Linked DNA regions of Homo sapiens: region 1 is linked to region 2. Evidence: promoter capture Hi-C in 16 types of primary human blood cells and fetal thymus (Javierre and others, 2016). All regions are on one chromosome and are shown on one strand. The core of a region is centred on a gene start or on the middle of the fragment in contact, and the rest is flanking DNA. Distances in the headings are between cores, read along the strand shown. Region 1 overlaps CBL (Cbl proto-oncogene). Region 2 holds the start of RPS25 (ribosomal protein S25).

Region 1 (5,369 bases), core at 1,186-3,685, 270 kb before region 2:
TACAAATTAAAATTCTTTTGGGAGAGGGTATTCAACTCTCTCTAATCTAGTGTGATGTTCCTTTCCAGTTCTTTCTCCTACTGACAAAATTTCTGCTCTACTTAAAATAACCTAATCATCATTCCACAATACACCTTAGGCATTTCTGTCATTGTGGCTGTTATCAATCTGAAAACCGTATCCACTTTCCAAAGAAATACTTCAGATCTCAGATGCCACTCCTTCTATAAAGTTCTCATGATTGCCCTATCTGGGAATAACCTCTTATTTCTCTAAAACTTAAGTGTTTTCTAGTTAGATTACAAATGGCATTTATGAAAGGACATTTACTGCAATATTTACAAACTGCCTCATCTGGTCTGTGAATATACACATTTTTTTTTTGAGACAAAGTTTCACTCTTGTTGCCCAGGCTGGAGTGCAATCACCTGATCTCAGCTCACTGCAACCTCTGCCTCCAGGTTCAAATGAATCTCCTGCCTCAGCCTCCTGAGTAGCTGGAATTACAGACACCCACCACCAGGCCCAGTTAATTTTTTGTATTTTTAGTAGAGACGGGGTTTCATCATGTTAGCCAGGGTGGTCTCAAACTCCTGACCTCAGGTGATCCACCCGCCTCGGCCTCCTAAAGTGCTGTGATTGCAGGTGTGAGCCACCACGCCCAGCCATATTTCTTGAGGGTAGGAATTATGTTATAGCATCTCTGAATTCCATATAAAACTTATCACAAAATTTCAACCCATAAACTTCTATCCACACATATTTCTTTTTCTTTCTTCTTTTTTTTCAAGACAGGGTCTTACTCTATTGCCTAGGCTGGAGTGCAGTGGCGCCATCATGGCTCACTGAAAGCTTGGCCTCCTGGGCCCAAGCAATATTCCCACCTCAGCCTCCCGAGTAGCTGGAATTACAGGCAAGTGCCACCACGCCCAGCTAATTTTTGTAATTTTTGTAGAGACAGGGTTTCACTACGTCCCCCAGGCTGGTCTCGAAATCCTCGGCTCAAGCGATCCACCCACCTTGGCCTCCCAAATTGCTGGGATTACAGACATGAGCCACTGTGCCTGGCCCACACATATTTCTTAACAGGTTAGATAGTTTCAAAATTAAGACTCACCATGGAGGTATCCAGACTGAACGTGCTTCCGAGCCTAGGCACATCTGGTCTGGGCTCCATTTGTGAGGGCAATGAAAATGGAAGTGAGTGCCGGTTGGTTAATTCTCTTCCTGTCCAGGGATCACTGGAACTTGGGGCAGATACTGGTACTTTGGGGATTGGCCGGGGCAGCCATGAGTCTCCAAGGCGGCTAGAGGGGACAGGGGGCAGTTTGTCTCTGGAGGGACAGTCGCCTGGTGTACAAGGCAAGGGGCGTCTTTGAGGTCGGGATTCTGCTCCAACAGAATATGGCCGGTCTGGAGGCGGTGGTGGTGGAAGATCTCGAAGTGTGGGAGGTACTGGCAATGGTTTGTCTTTATGAAGGGAGCCAGAAGCAGCCTGTGGAAGCAGGGTGAAAGCAAATCAGTAAAAACCCACTAGTACACAGCAAAGAATCCAAAAACTGCAGTAATGGAAAATGCTTTACCTTAGAAGCAGTTCCAAGAGCAGAAGCACTTGAGGGAACACATACTCGCTGCGGCAGAAGGTCAAGTCGTGGTGGCACCGGGGGAAGGGAAGCTTGTGGGGCCATGGAGAATGGAGAAGGCGGCCGTTCCACCTAGGGTACATAAAAAATTTAACAGATTACTTTCGTTTGGGGAAATGGCATCTTTCAACTCTCCTAAAGCTGTGGATGGCAAATACCATGGGAACACTTAAACTACAAATGGGCCAGACCTAGGTTTGAGGTCGCACACACCCTCTTAAAAAACTTCCAGAGACTCTAGCACTTCCTGAATAATTTTTGTGTCACCATAAGAGGGCACTCTCAATCACAGAAACACCATACCCATGGCAAGCTACAGGTAATCTATCTAGAAAGGACAGGGCTACAAAAAGTTTCCTAGTTTACAACTTTAAAAATTACAACAGTTTTCTACCCCCTCATCTTTGGAGAAAGAAAAAAATCTTTTCAAGATTAAAAATAGGAATCCATATAAAAAGTAAGGGGCAGGCCATGCACAGTGGCCCACACCTGTAATACTAACATTTTGGGAGGCAGGAGTTCGAGACCAGTATGGGCAACATAATGAGACCCCATCTCTACAAAAAATAAAATAAAAAATTAGCTGGGCCATGGTGGCACACAGCTATTTGGGAGGCTAAAACAGGAAGACTGCTTGAGCCTAGGAGTTTGAGACTGCAGTGAACCATAATCTAGCCACTGTACTCCAGCCTGGGCAACAGAGCAAGAGCCTGTCTCGACAAAAATAAAATAAAAAAAAAGGATGGCAGTGGGGCGGGGGGTGCAGATATTAACCTCTTAACAAAGTACCTGGGAAAACAATGTTTAAGGGACATAATAAAGAAAGAGATCGATGACGGTGAATTCTCTATGGGTTATTAAGGTAAGAAAGAAGATGAGAGTCGGTACAGTGGCTCACACCTGTAATCCTGCATTTGGGGAGGCAGGAGGATTGCTTGAGGCCAGGAGTTCAAGACCAGCCTTGTCAACATAGTGAGATCCCTCTAAAAAATTTTAACTAAAAATTTTTTTAAGGTGAATTTGTAAAGAAAAATGATCAAGAATATCACTAAAAAGCATCTTGAGTCCTTCCAAAGAAATAAATTATTTCAATTCAATAATTAAGGCCAGGCGTGGTGGCTCACGCCTGTAATCGCAGCACTTTGGGAGGCTGAGGCGGGTGGATCACGAGGTCAGGAGATCGAGACCATCTTGGCTAACACGGTGAAACCCCGTCTCTACTAAAAATACAAAAAATTAGCCAGGTGTGGTGGCGGGCGCCTGTAGTCCCAGCTATTCAGGAGGCTGAGGCAGGAGAATGGCATGAACCCGGGAGGCGGAGCTTGCAGTGAGCCGAGATAGCGCCACTGCACTCCAGCCTGGGCAAAAGAGCAAGACTCCATCTCAAAAAAAAAAAAAAAAAAAAAAAAAAAAAAGAAAGAATTAAAAAGGATTAATATTTTCTGTCAATTTGAGCTCTAAAAAATGAGGTACCAAATTAGAAGAAAGAACACATATATAACCTTTTCCATTTCCCTGCCTATAGCAGGCTTAGGAATAGCTGATAAGCTTGTCAAAGTAAGCTGTCAAGAGATACACAGTAATTCATTAAAAAAAAAATGCTACTCTGCATTTAAATTCCCCAACAGCAAAGCAACACTGACAGAAAAACAGCCATATTTAGTCATGTTATTAGTGCTGGGTGGTGGATGACAGAAAAGCTCTCATCTTTAACTCTTTGCTTTATCCACATGCTTAAGATAACGGGTTCCCAATTAGCTGACAATGCAGCATGAGCAGCTAAACAGCTCAATGACAAAAGTCAAAGTTACTAGTCAAGCCTCCTCTCACTTCATCATAATTATTTTGTCAGTAGCTATATCCTGCTGATTTTTCCCTAAAAGATTCTCATACCTGTATATTTCATTTCATTCTACTTACCAACCCCAGACCTTACTTATTTATGGGAGACAGGGTCTTGCTCTGTAGCCCAGGCTGGACTGCAGTGGCACAAACATGGTGCACTGCAGCCTTGACCTCCTGGGCTCAAGCCATCCTCCTGCCTCAGCCTCTCAAGTAGCTGGGACAAGCTGTGCGCCACCACATGTGGCTTTTTTTTTTTTGGGGCGCGGGGAAGGCACGGGTAGACGGGGTCTTGTCATGTTGCCCAGGGTGGACTCAAACCTCTGGGCTAAAGTGATCCTCCTTGCCTTGGCCTCCCAAAGGGCTGGCATTACAGGCGTGAGCCACCGCGGGTGGCCGTGATTTATTAAAACAACCTAGTGAACTTCCCAACTTGTAGTTTATCTCACCACATCCTTCTGCTTACCACTATCAGCTTAGCCATTCTTAAACACTCACCAACTCAAAAACCACCAGTAACTCCCAATTTGCCCTGTTACAAAATCTCACCCTCCTGCCCAGCTTTCACAAGTCTTTCTAATCTGGTCTCTGCAACCAAAGAAAGGTATTTCCCACAACTCCCTAACAAGCATCAACGCTGCTCTATTCAGGCTCATCTCCTCAGTGTTTCCTGCACATTCTAATGATTATTTCGACTTCCGTATCATTCTTTAAATCCTTTCCCCATTCTGGAAGGCCCTCTCTGCCGATCATCAATCTTTCTCTCATTCCTTAGGCACAGAGGGTTGAACTAATCATATTTTTACATTCATGTCTCAACATCATAATGGATCCTTGCAATAGTCTTTTTTTTTTTTTTTGAGATGGAGTCTCACTCTTGTTGCCCAGGCTGGAGTGAAATAGTGCGATCTCAGCTCGCTGCAACCTCTGCCTCCCAGGTTCAAGCCATTCTCTGGCCTCAGCCTCCCAAGTAACTGGGATTATAGGCATGCGCCACCATGCCTGGCTAATTTTCGTATTTTTAGTAGAGACAGGGTTTCACCACACTGGCCAGGCTGGTATGGAACTTCTGATCTCAGGTGATCTGCCCGCTTCGGCCTCCCAAAGTGCTGGGATTACACGCATGAGCCACCGCACCCGGCCGCAATATTCTTTTATCATAGCATATAAGGCTCCAGAAAAGGTGGAACCTTTATAAATTTATAAATGGAAAATAAGTGATCAGAGAAATACAAACATTTCCAAGACTTCAAGACTTAAAGGACATAAATATCCAAATAGAAAGGGTTTATTACATACCTAGCTCAATGAAAGAAAGGAAACCCACAACAAACAAACCAAAAATACCCTTACAATTTTCATCAAATCAAGGATGAGGAAAATATCTTAAAAGCTTCTGGTGGGCCAGGTGCAGTGGCTCACACCTGTAATCCCAGCACTGTGGGAGGCCGAGGCAGGCGGATCACAAGGTCAGGAGATCAAGACCATCCTGGCTAACATGGTGAAACCCTGTTTCTACTAAAAATACAAAAAAAAATTAGCCAGGCGTGGTGGCAGGCGCCTGTAGTCCCAGCTACTCAGGAGGCTGAGGCAGGAGAATGGTGTGAACCCGGGAGGCAGAGGTTGCAGTGAGCCGAGATTGCACCACTGCACTCCAGCCTGGGTGACAGAGCAAGATTCTGTCTCAAAAAAAAAAAAAAAAAAGGCTTTTGGTGACAGAGGGAAAGGAAGCGCTGAAAAGCAAAAATACATTAGAAGCTAGAAGTCAGTGAAGCCTTAACAATTTAGAGCAGAATATTTATTAATCTAGAATTCTGTAACTAGTCAATTCACGTTTGAGGGTTGAATAAAGGCATTTTAAGATACCAAAGATCTCAAGAAGTT
Region 2 (5,285 bases), core at 263-2,762:
TCACAATTGAGAGCAGAAAAAGTTTAAAGGTCATTTAGTTAAACTGGCTTTCTTTAAATATGAAGAAACTAAGGCTCAGAGAAGAGAAGTTGACTTTAAGTAAGATGACACCTCGGCCGGGCGCGGTGGCTCACTCCTGTAATCCCAGCACTTTGGGAAGCCGAGGCAGGTGGATCACCTGAGGTCAGGAGTTTGAGACCAGCCTGGCCAACATGGCAAAACCCCTCTCTACTAAAAATACAAAAATTAGCTGGTCGTGGTGGCACGCGCCTGTAATCCCAGCTACTCGGGAGGCTGAGGCAGGAGAATCGCTTGAACCTGGGAGGCAGAGGCTGCAGTGAGCCGAGATCCCGCCACTGCGCTCCAGCCTGGGTAACTCCGCGGCCCCTCCCCACCCAGCAAAAAAAGATGACACCACTGCCGTTATTACCTAAAATCTAGATCTGGATCGGTTGCGTTTTTCATAACACCAGAACGACGATTTAAGAAAAGGTAGACAAATTACAAGCGCTGCCGTTCAGGAGACGGGGGACTTACGAGTGGAACATGGAGGCCAGCATAAGCTTCTCATTAGAAGTGAGGCGGGGCCGGCCAAATCGAATGGACACCGGGTAATTAGCAGGGTTACCCAGATACTCCAGCACCTCTTTCCCGTCGGCCGTGTACCTGCCATTCACGTCCATGCCATTGATGGCCAGCACTGCATGACCCACTGCAGAGGTGAAGCTAACGGTCAGCGAAGGTGCAGCCCGGGGATTCCGCCGAGGGGACAAGGGACCCGACACAACCCCTTTTCCCCCAACCCCGCACCTACAACCAGCCCACTTCTACAGCACTGGGGCCCTCCCACCCCCGCACCCGCCACGGGCCCGAGCCTAGCCCACCTCGGATGCCGTCCCGCTGGCCGAAAGCAACCAACACACGCTCATCGTGTAGCTTGAGCAGCAGATCCAGCGGATAACTGAAAGTTTTCTCAGCCTCAGCCCGTGGCGCGTAGCTGTCCAACTGGTAAATCAAGCCGCCAGCTTTGTTCACCACATACACACTAAAAATCGCCATCGCTGCCTTGCCGCTCGGAAACTGGTATTCAGCCTCTACCCGACGGCCCCTCCCCGGAACCGCATCACAGCACTTGCCGCCGGCCCCACCCCAGCCTCCTCCTCCTCCTCCTCCTCCTCCCGCGCCCCCCGTGCAGCCACCTGCTGCACTTGCGCACTGGGAGCGACACGCTCGGGCATAAGTAGTGCCGGAAAGTTAGCTGCCGAGACCTGGTGGATTGCTTTTCGTTTATCAGTGCAGGAAAACAGCGCTATAGTATGCGTCACAACTAGCGCAGACTCCGGCAGTATTTAGGCGGTGCGGCTTGGGAACTAGAATCCACTTCCTGTCTTCCGCCTCAGGCTAGAGGGCGAGCGCTTCGCCGTGGGACTTCTTCTGCCTGGCTCCGCCTTTTGCCCCGGAAGTACTCACAGCGGACGGTGGTTTTTGGGCCCGTTTCTGAGCAGCGCTTCCTTTTTGTCCGACATCTTGACGAGGCTGCGGTGTCTGCTGCTATTCTCCGAGCTTCGCAATGGTAAGCTTCAGGGGTGTGAAGTCGCCGGCGTTCTTGGGTTTGAGGACTCAGTGGGGAGAGCCTTCGGCGGGAGCGCTCCTTGGCCTGCCGGCCTCGGTTGCAGGGCGGGCGCGGTTATTGCTTGGCCCATGTGCTCTGGTGGTGGAGTTTGCGGGGGCTGAGGGCGCAGTATTAGGGGACTTTGGCGCTATTTGAGGACCTGGTTGCATTCCCGCTGCCCTCCTACAGCCGCCTAAGGACGACAAGAAGAAGAAGGACGCTGGAAAGTCGGCCAAGAAAGACAAAGACCCAGTGAACAAATCCGGGGGCAAGGCCAAAAAGAAGGTAGAAATAAGACCTCTCTGAAAGAGACTAGGGGTAACTCTCTCGTAATCCTCTAGTAATAGGTAACTTGTATAGTAAGTGGTTTTTCAGGTGTAGATTTCTAGAGTCAAAATGTGAGAGTTTATCTTCCCGTCACCACTCGTTCTTTTTCCCATTAGGATCATGAAAATGGGTCTGTTGTGCGAAGTGTCTGCCGCTGTGCCTGCTGTGTTATTTTTAACTGATCTAGTGGGGCTCGGCCCCTGTTTGAAGGCCAAAAACGTGTCGGTGTTTTTTTTTTGTTTTTGTTTTAGTAATGTGTAATTTATCCTTGATAACGGTGGAACAGATTTCTCTGACGCAGATTACTCGAGAGGGAAAGGGTGCTTCTGCCAGAAATACTAACTTGTTTCTGTTTTGTTTTGGTGAGCAGAAGTGGTCCAAAGGCAAAGTTCGGGACAAGCTCAATAACTTAGTCTTGTTTGACAAAGCTACCTATGATAAACTCTGTAAGGAAGTTCCCAACTATAAACTTATAACCCCAGCTGTGGTCTCTGAGAGACTGAAGATTCGAGGCTCCCTGGCCAGGGCAGCCCTTCAGGAGCTCCTTAGTAAAGGTGAGGGGTGTATCCTACATGTGTGTTTTTGTAGGTTAAATTGTCTTGACCATGTTAAGCATCTTCAGTGGTTTTGCTGGAAAAGCAGAATTAAAAAAAAAAAGCGTGGCTTGACCATTGGCTGTTAGTAATGTAATTCTGACGTCTTACTCCTGATCCTGAGATGAATTCTCAGGGTTCTTAGCCACTTTTGTGCCGTGGACCCTGTGGCAGTTTAGTGAAGCCCAAGGATCTTTTATGTTTCGAGTAAATGGATGCATAGAATTACAGGGACAACCGTTTTTGAAATAATTAGATTACTATTTTGAAACAACTTTGAAAATGTTTAAAACCTTTATGGTAAATATTTTGTTGATGTATTAAATTTTAAAACCAGAAATTTAGTACGGTCTACTCAGTAGTATGGTCTGATTACCATAATTCCACAATAATAAGGCTCAGCTAACTATAGTGACTGAACGTCTATAATTCTAGCACTTTGGGAGGCCAAGGCGGGTGAATCAACGGAGGTCAGGAGTTAAAGACCAGCCTGGCCAATATGGTGAAAACCTGCTCTACTGAAAGTTAGCTGGACGTGGGGGCACACGTCTGTAATCCCAGCTACTCAGGATGCTGAGGCATGAGGATCCCTTGAACCCAGGAGATGGAGGTGGCAGTGAGCCGAGATGACACCACTGCACTCCAGCCTTAGTGACAGCAAAAGACTGTCTCAGAAAGGGGGGGGGGGTGGAAGATAATGGAGCCCTAATTTAAAGGAAAAGTAAGGATAGATGATCGTTAAAAACTAGGATTCTCGGTTACCGAACGTCAGATTAAGCAATTCTGGAGCCAGGTGCAGTGGTACCCTTGTATTTCTAGCTACTTGGGAGGCCAAAGCAGGAGGATCATTTGAGCCAAGGAGTTTTAAGACCATTCTGGGCACCTCTGAGAGAACTCTGTCTTTTTGTTTTCCTTTTCTTTAAATAGAGATGCGGTTTTGCCATGTTGCCCAGGCTGGTCTCCTGGGCTCAAGAGATCCACCTGTCCAAAGTGCTGGGATTACAGGCATGAGCCTCTGCACCCGGCCAAAACAAACCTTACTAGAGTCTCATTCTGTTGCCCAGGTTGGAGTGCGGAGGGGCAGTCTTGGCTCAATGCAACCACCAATTCCTGGGTTCAGGTGGTCCTCACCTCAGCTTCCCAAGTAGCTGGAATTACAAGCATGTGCCACCATGCCCAGCTAATTTTTGTATTTTTGGTAGAGATGGGGTTTCACCTTGTTGGCCAGGCTGGTGTGCAACTCCTTACCTCAAGCTATCTGCCCGTCTCCACCTCCCAAAGCAGTGGGATTATAAGCATGAGCCACCGCGCCCAGCCAAAAACCTTACTAGTTTCTATTGTAGCATCTGTTAAGCATCTCATCGTGCTATTCTCTCCCCCTAGGACTTATCAAACTGGTTTCAAAGCACAGAGCTCAAGTAATTTACACCAGAAATACCAAGGGTGGAGATGCTCCAGCTGCTGGTGAAGATGCATGAATAGGTGAGTAGGAATGTGTGGGCTCATGGTGTAGGAGGTAGATACAAAGCTTTATGGTTCTGATTCTTTTAATTTTTTTTTACAGGTCCAACCAGCTGTACATTTGGAAAAATAAAACTTTATTAAATCAAATGAATGAGTATGTCTGTTTCCTAAGAAAGACAATGATAAAGAATTTGGTGGAAGGTATAATAGGGGTTTGTTGACTTTGCTTTTAGCCTCATGGTAGTTGGTAGAGAGCATGATTAGCTTTTTTCTGTATGTGACTGCTTCTTCATTGCTGCAGCTTCAGTTTTGAATTGATGTCTGAAAGGAAATAAAGGGTTAACACGATGATGAAGGGTGACATCTCCAAAAAGGAGGTTGGATGGGTAGGTTGGAGACCCGGCACTGAACACACATACCTGGACTGCCAGCGGCGTCCATTATTCCAGACGCGGCCAAAAGAGGGCAGCCAGCCTGCACTGGTCCTGGAGCTGTGATCAAAGTTGGCCCCAACTCGGTCTGGGGGGAGTTTTTTCAACTTCTGTTTTTCCTCTGTACAATGATAGGGAAACTTTTATTTTTCTTTATTGAAGAATATAGAGATGGGGTCTCACTATGTTGTCCAGGCTGTTTTCAAACTTCTGGGCTCAAGTGACCCTCCCACCTCAGCCTCCCAAAATGCTAGGATTATAGCCATGAGCCACCACACACAGGCAAGGAAACCATTTTTGAGTGTGAAGATTTAGACGATCCTCTCTTGAATTAGTTTACTTACTTTCTTTAAGAAATTCTTCATAGGATGGTCCTATTTCTTGGTTCCCAGCAATGTATTCTTCATCTTGGATCATCCAGGGAGGTGTGGCACCTGAAAAAAAAATTAAGGCTTTTTTTTTTTTTTTTAAGTCTTCAGGCTATTGTGAAACATGTCCTAGCTGTTAGCTTACCTCTCCTCATTAAGAGCTAGAAATGTCTAAAAGCAAAGCCCAGGAATTCTGGAGCTTTAGAAGGCCCTAGGCTAATTTAAAGCGACATACCCCATATGTGACAGTCATTTTAAAATGGCTTTGAGGCACAACTGACATAAACGATACACACTTAAATTTGGTGACTTTTGAGCGAAGCCATTACAATCTAGACCCCAAACATCCCCCTGTAAGTATCACTGCCCCCATTAAAATATTTTCATGTCCAGGCAATCGGTGATCTTTCAGTTGCTTTATTGGTTTGTATTTTTTAGGATTTTCTGTGTGTGGACATTGAGGTGGGGTCTGGCCTTTTGTTTTTTTGAG

Evidence for each region. Contacts are between HindIII fragments. The CHiCAGO score rates a contact against its expected background, and 5 or more counts as called.
Region 1: a fragment that was not itself captured here is called in contact with the fragment with the promoter of RPS25 in region 2 in 2 of 17 cell types (naive CD8 T cells and naive B cells); the score reaches 5.7 in naive CD8 T cells.

Annotation. Positions count from the first base shown.
Region 1 is chr11:119,281,315-119,286,683 of GRCh38, reverse strand. It overlaps CBL (Cbl proto-oncogene), which reads right to left. Exons shown (of 16, transcript NM_005188.4): 10 at 1,584-1,715; 11 at 1,118-1,495. Among named protein-coding and RNA genes, the nearest start is that of MIR6756, 29 kb to the left of the region's middle. The HindIII fragment of the contact is 1,516 bases long and covers 1,678-3,193 here.
Region 2 is chr11:119,014,570-119,019,854 of GRCh38, reverse strand. RPS25 (ribosomal protein S25) reads left to right here and starts at 1,512. Exons shown (of 5, transcript NM_001028.3): 1 at 1,512-1,573; 2 at 1,802-1,897; 3 at 2,310-2,493; 4 at 3,916-4,014; 5 at 4,097-4,138. The coding sequence starts at 1,571. The coding sequence ends at 4,010. It overlaps TRAPPC4 (trafficking protein particle complex subunit 4), which reads right to left and starts at 1,089. Exons shown (of 5, transcript NM_016146.6): 1 at 885-1,089; 2 at 538-712. The coding sequence starts at 1,059. CENATAC (centrosomal AT-AC splicing factor) reads right to left here. Exons shown (of 11, transcript NM_198489.3): 9 at 4,772-4,861; 10 at 4,416-4,548; 11 at 4,062-4,317. The coding sequence ends at 4,257. RefSeq lists enhancers at 518-1,216, 1,471-1,700, 1,721-1,790 and a silencer at 1,111-1,230. The HindIII fragment of the contact is 1,015 bases long and covers 566-1,580 here.